2 separate regions of the Homo sapiens genome follow, and region 2 is linked to region 1. Evidence: promoter capture Hi-C in 16 types of primary human blood cells and fetal thymus (Javierre and others, 2016). All regions are on one chromosome and are shown on one strand. The core of a region is centred on a gene start or on the middle of the fragment in contact, and the rest is flanking DNA. Distances in the headings are between cores, read along the strand shown.

Evidence for each region. The method cuts DNA at HindIII sites, captures the fragments that hold promoters and counts their contacts. A CHiCAGO score of 5 or more calls a contact.
Region 2: a fragment that was not itself captured here is called in contact with the fragment with the promoter of LEP in region 1 in 2 of 17 cell types (megakaryocytes and neutrophils); the score reaches 5.4 in megakaryocytes.

Annotation. Positions count from the first base shown.
Region 1 is chr7:128,239,572-128,242,970 of GRCh38, reverse strand. It overlaps LEP (leptin), which reads right to left and starts at 1,693. Exons shown (of 3, transcript NM_000230.3): 1 at 1,665-1,693. RefSeq lists cis regulatory regions at 1,739-1,747, 3,239-3,399, promoters at 1,665-1,911, 1,665-3,399 and an enhancer at 3,239-3,399. The HindIII fragment of the contact is 7,258 bases long and covers 1-3,399 here.
Region 2 is chr7:128,334,745-128,338,143 of GRCh38, reverse strand. It overlaps RBM28 (RNA binding motif protein 28), which reads left to right. Exons shown (of 19, transcript NM_018077.3): 6 at 942-1,013; 7 at 2,102-2,297; 8 at 2,465-2,601. Among named protein-coding and RNA genes, the nearest start is that of RBM28, 7.5 kb to the left of the region's middle. The HindIII fragment of the contact is 3,765 bases long and covers 1-3,399 here.

The DNA of each region.
Region 1 (3,399 bases), core at 444-2,943:
AAATCATACCAGTGCTGTTCACAGATGCACAAGACACAAGGACTCTACCTTCCTGGAGCCCCTCTTCTCTCCTTGGCTCCCACGCCCCTGGTGGCATCTAAGCGGGGGTGGGACATTGACCCAGGTTCCGTGGCGGCCACCTCCACGCTCTGCATGGGCCACTCAGACGTGCAAGGCATCTGCCTGGGGCTGACGGGCAGGAATTCATTGCAACTTCCCTGGCTCTGTCCTTGGCACTTGGAGCCATTTCCTGGAATGGACGGGGAGGAAAATATTTCCCCAAATACCAAGAAGAGTTATTTTGGGTATAAAATGTACAAAATATGAGGAGGACGCTCCTTTAGCCAATGTGGAAATGTTCCCCTCAGCCCAATGTCCACAACTGCTTGGGAAGGGAAAGAACCTAAAAGCATCCACTGTTTCTCTCTTGCCTTGTCTCCCTGCCTAAGTGAGAGAAATGATCAGTGTGGCCTTCTTGTTTCTAAGGGCATTAGAACAGGAGCACTCACGTTGCTAGAAGCCTCCATATCTGGTTCTGCAGACAATCCTAATATGAAAGAGATTGGCAAAATTCCCCAGTTCCAGCTGCCCATGGCCCACCTCAGAATCCTACAGAACAAACACAACTCCGGCTGCCAGAGGTCATTCTGCACTGCAAAGGAAGAGAGCCTGTGCTCCTGGAACGGTACCACCAAGTCTCTGCTCTTCACCCACCTCCCCAAAGATCACCCTTCCAACAGAAATTAATCACCTCTTGGAAGCTGCTATTCTGAAATGACAGCCAGGCCACTTGTCTCACTTGGACCTAACTGTATTTAAGGAGTCACTTTCCCAAAGCACCACTATCTTTAAACTATAGAAACAGGAGTGTAAAGGCGATGGCACCCACAGTGAAATCCAAACCAAGCCCAGACTGAAGGAAGGCTATAGGTGAGCCTGGTGGGCCAACAGCGCGTATTTAGCAGTCCTGGCTAGAAGTTCCCTAATAACCAGTTCTGACCCCCAGAGACACCTCATTGTATGCATTGCAAAGAAGGCAATTTGCATGGCTTTGAGGACAGATCTGGTAAGACCCTGCACAATTTCTCTGGAAGATTTTGAGTCTTCCTGACACTTGTTTCCCCCCACCTCTACTCATCCTTGCCTTCCTCCCAGGCATTGGCCTTACACAGCCCCTCTCATTCAGAGGTCAGGAACTTCCCTGGAAAATGAATCCTGAATTCCTACCCGCAGAGCAAGGCAATGTCTGGGACTGAGACTGATCACTTGCATCTGCGTCTCTCCTACCCCCAACTTTATCTCCTTCAGACTGGGGTGGGACATCCTGATCTTTGGGGATGTGCCCAAGGCAATTTCCAATGCATCTCAGCTCTGCGAATGCCACCAGGTTGGTGGGTCTGACAGTCTCCCAGGGACCTGGCTGGTTCTGCAAGGTCCTGCCTTCTGGGCACCGGCACAGCCCAGCAGCAAATCCAACGCTCCCCAGCTCCCGGTAACCTTCTATCTGGCTAGAACTCGGTACAAAGCTATCATAGTCCAGAACTAAGCCATCCGCCCTGCATCCCTCCTGACTCAGTTTCCCCGGGATCCAGAGTTGTGTGGGGCCCTGTGGCCTGCCAAGAAAGACCAGCAGAGAAGGAGGAAGGAGCGCGCCGGGGCCTTACCTTGCAACCGCTGGCGCTGCGATTCCTACGGGGCTCCATGCCTGCCCGCCCCTCTTATAGCGGCCCGATCACAACTTGCGCAACTGCCCCGCAGGCCCCGGCGCATTTCTAGCGCCAGCTCCCGCCCCGCCCCTCAGGGTAGCGACGTGCCGGGCGGCTGCTAGCCCTGGGCCCGCAGTGTGCACCTCGCGGGGCCTCGAGGGAGGGCCTCGGCGCGCCAGGAGCCACGCGCGCACCCTTGGGTACCTCCCAAAAATTTGGGGGTGGCTGGTAGGAGCGAGAAATCCTTGATGTCCCTCCAGAGGCTCCGGCGCGACTATGGCGCAAGGACCAGCCCCTTGGGAAGGTGCTTCGAGCCGCGCGGGGCGCGGTCGGGGCGGGGGTGGCTGTGAGGGGCTCCGCGGAGCGGGCTGGGGCATACGGCTGCGCCCTCGTTGGTCCTGGCGCGGCTTCGGGGTGGGAGCGAATCGGGACTCGGCCCCGACGGCCCTGGACGCCAGGGAAGCCCAGGGTTAGAGGGAGCGGCCCGCAGTGCGCCAGGCTCCCCGACCCAGATTGCGGGGTTGGGGGTTCTGAAGTCCCACCCCTTCTCTGGCACGCGGAGAATCGAGTTCCAAGCCTCAGGGCAAGTTGTCTCTGGCTGGCACCCCAGGGAGTGCACGCTCTCTGGAGGGCTCCAGGCGGGCACTGTGGCCTTTGGGGACACTCTGGACATACTGTGGGTCTCCATCCTCAACTCCGTATTTCCTACGTACAAAGTGGGGGTTGGGGGGTGGTCCCAGATGTAGCCACGTTTTTGTCATCATAGCCTGTGAGTGGTGTGGTAGGCATGTTTCACCTGTATCGTTTGTAGTTCCCCGCTTTACATGATGGGTTGGTTTGTTTTGTTTTGTTTTGTTTTGTTTTACCCTTGGGCTTCAGGGATGAGGAATCTAAGGTCCAGCGAGGTTAAATGACTTTCCTTAGAATCCACAGCTGGTAAGGAATAGCAATGGGCTAGGAACCCAGGCCTATTCTGGTCCCCACTGCGCAGAGCAGCTCCAAAAACAAACCACTCCATTGAGAACCAACCCAGCCAGGCGTGGTAGCTCAAGCCTGTAATCCCAGCACTTTGGGAGGCCAAGGTGGGTGGATCACCTGAGGTCAGGATTTCGAGACCAGCCTGGCCAACATGGTGAAACCTCATCTCTACTAAAAATACAAAATTAGCCAGGTGTGGTGGTGAGTGTCTGTAATCCCAGCTACTTGAGAGGCTGAGGCAGGAGAATGGCTTGAACCTGGGAAGTGGAGGTTGCAGTGAGCCAAGATCAGACCATTGCACTACAGCCTGGGCAACAAGAGTGAAACTCTGTCTCAATAAAAAAAACAAAACAAAACAAAACCCATAACATAAAGCGGGGAACTGCAAATGACGTTGGTGAACCGAGCCTGCCACTGCCGGGTTTGGTAATGCCCAAAAGCTAAGAATGGTTTCTACATTTGTAAAAGTTTGAAAAAAAAAAATCAAAAGAAGAGGCCAGATGCAGTGGCTCATGCTTGTAATCTCAGTATCCCACGTTGGGCACCAGATATTGGGGGAACCTGCCCCCAATATTTCAACGTAGGTTCTTTCTATTTTCCATAAGTGTCAGCTGGCTGAGAAATAAAGAGAGAGAGTACAAAGAGAGGAATTTTACAGCTGGGCCGCCGGGGGTGACATCACATATCGGTAGTACTGTGATGCCCACCTGAGCCT
Region 2 (3,399 bases), core at 535-3,034, 95 kb before region 1:
AGTCTCATTGCTAATACGGTAGCTATTTAGGTGAAATACTCTAGAACTTGATCTTGGGGTTAAACTTGAAAGAACCCTTGCCAGTATTCTTTCTTTTATCTGGTGAGAGTGTCCTTTTAAATCCCTAGTGAAAAATGTCCCTGAGATAATTGCTGATAGATGCAGGTTGGTATCTAGATTCCTCCTTGGTTATATCACTGTTCAGCATCTGTGGGCTATTTATTAAACTGACTGTGATTTATATATTGACTTATCAAGTACTGTGCCTAAAGAAGTTATTGCCGGCCAGGTGCGGTGGCTCACACCTGTAATCCTAGCACTTTGGGAGGCCGAGGAGGCAGGTGGATCACCTGAGGTCAGGAGTTCAAGACCAGCCTGGTCAACATGGCGAAACCCCGTCTCTACTGAAAATACAAAAATTAGCCAGGTGTGGTGGTGCATGCTTGTAATCCCAGCTACTCAAGAGGCTGAGGCAGGAGAATCGCTTGAACCTGGAGGCGGAGGTTGCAGTGAACTGAGATGGCACCACTGCACTCCAGCCTGGGCGACAGAGCGAGACTGTGTCTCAAAAAAAAAAAAAAGAAGTTATTGCCGTAGAGATGTCCTAGCTTCCAGGTAGGGTGCAGATGATTCCAGAATGCCTGTTTTGATTCCTGATAGTCTAACTGGAAACATAGTTCTAATTCTTTATTTTTTTACTCCATCTTATCCCAGGTGTGGTGGCTATGTAGAAAGGCAAAATTTCTGTTCATTGATAAAAAGGTTAAGGGTTAAAAGGAGTAGGCAGTGACTAGGAGCTTTATTTTAAGACCAGCATTCCCTGAATTGGCAGTTTCTTTGTCTCCACTGGTTCCATTATTGTCTGTGATGACTAGGGGTCATTTACAGAGGTAGGGTTTTTAAAAGGAGAGCCTTTCTGATGCCACTTTTCTGCTTGACAGGCCGGACAGTGGCTGTGGATTGGGCCGTGGCAAAGGATAAATATAAAGATACACAGTCTGTTTCTGCTATAGGTAAGATGTGGTAGTGTTGGGTGAGTAGGGGCGTTGTATAACCTGGGTGAGAGTATTGAAACAACTCCTGTGTTCATGATAAAAGTGTAAGAAAAAGGCTGGGTGCAGTGGCTCTTGCCTGTAATTCCAGCACTTTGGGTGGATTGCTTGCAGTCAGGAGTTTGAGACCAGCCTGGCCAACATGCAAAACCCCATCTCTACTAAAAATACAAAAATTAGCTGGGCTTGGTGGTGGGCGCCTGTCATCCCACCTGCTTGGGAGGCTGAGGCAGGTTCTTGAACCTGGGAGGCAGAGGTTGCAGTGAGCCGAGATCACCCCACTGCACTCCAGCCTGGGCAACAAAACGAGACTTCGTCTCAAAAAAAAAGTGTAAGAGAACCTGCTTATCAGAGTAAGACTATTGTGGAAGATTAACCAAAAGAATGAGACTGGGCTTTCAGGGAAAACTCTGAATTCCTGCTGGCTCAGAAGTGAGTCCAGGTCTGTTTGTCAATTCATATTGTACCATTTGGTGCTCTGGTCCCAAAACCTAGGCTCTTTTGAGTCTAAGCCCCTTCCTGGGAGTGGCTGTGAGTGAGCCTGAGTTCACTGTCCCCTTTACTTGCTGTTGTTTCCAGGCTGTGCATAATAGGAGTGATGGAACATTAAGAATAGAGAAACTTAAAACTTGAGGTTTATTTAGAAAACAATTGGCTGGTAAGCCACCAGGGTCTCAGAGAATAGAACGCACTGAGATTAAAGTTCATGGCTTGGCTTTGCCCCCTAGTGAGCATTTTGCTGGCTATGATGTACGAATGGTAGACTGCTTGGAGAGGCTCAGTTGCCACTTCTTTCAGTCTGGGCCAGATGAACCTTCAGACTGATGAATGGGACAAACTCTAAAGGAATCTGGGTGTTGAGAGTTTTGTTTATTTCTGTTTTTGCTTTTTCTTTTCTTTATACTTTCTCCTGTTATATGCAGTAAGAAAAATATACGAAATTCTGTAAAACCGATGAAACCAAGAACTTGGAGTATTGGTTACTTTTGTTAAAATAACATTGTTTTGGATATTAAATGAATTCCTCCTTTCTTTACCTCCCTCCATAGGTGAGGAAAAGAGCCATGAATCTAAACATCAGGAATCAGTTAAAAAGAAGGGCAGAGAGGAAGAGGATATGGAAGAGGAAGAAAACGATGATGATGACGATGATGATGATGAAGAAGATGGGGTTTTTGATGATGAAGATGAAGAGGAAGAGAATATAGAATCAAAGGTGACCAAGCCTGTGCAAATTCAGAAGAGGTAAGCAGCTCATCCTGTTCTGAGACAGCAGAGGAAGATTCAAGATTGTCTCCGAGAGGAAAAATTCTCCTTTTTCTGCCTGCATCATTGCAGAATTGACATGTGTAATGAAATTGAATAGGCCCTCTGTCAGCCCACCTCCTTAGTTCTGATCTGTGCCATTGCAGAGCAGTCAAGAGACCAGCCCCTGCAAAAAGCAGTGATCATTCTGAGGAGGACAGTGACCTAGAGGAAAGCGATAGTATTGATGATGGAGAGGAACTGGCTCAGAGTGATACCAGCACTGAGGAGCAAGAGGATAAAGGTTTGTTTGGATTTTCATAAATGTCTTTAGACTTTAAAAAAGTTACTGAAGTTACGGAAATGAGCATCAGTTCTGCTTAGATCTCTTTTTAAATAGGACTCTAAGGTGTTCTATCAAATTTATGTTTAAATGCTGAAAAGGAAACCTTTATACTCCTTTCTTCCAAAGGTTTTTTTGTTGTTTCCTTTTTGTTTGTTTTGTTTTTTAAGTGAGTTTTGGAGTGGTGTTTGAGGGTTAAGATTCTTAGGGAATTGAAAACCTAGCTTAATGCTGAGGTTCTACCTCTCTCTGGATTGTCCAACTTGATAGAATAACCAGGTAAACAGCATCTTATACAGATAATATAGATGAAACAGATGATATAACCATCTCAACATCAAGCTAGATTTTAAACAACTCCTTGGAGTTGAGATGGGGATAAAGAACTGTTTAGTCAGTTTGGACTGACATAACAAAATACCATAAACTGGGTGGCTTAAACAGCAGAAACTTATTTTCTCACAGCTCTAGAGGCTAGAAGTCCCAGGTGCCAGCTGATTCATTTTGGGTGCAGCTCTCTTCCTAGCTTGCAGACTGCTGCCTTCTCGCTATGTGCTTGCATGGCCTTTTCTTTGTGGCTTGACGAGGGGAGAGAGAGAACAAGTAACAGTGAACTCTGGTCTCTCTTTTCTTATAAGCACAGCAATCCTATCAGATTAGGGCCCAACCTTAAGACCTCATTTAGCTAGCCTCAGTTACCTCCCTAAAGTCTCTGTCTCCAAATACAATTATATTTGGGGTTAGGGCTTCAATGTATGA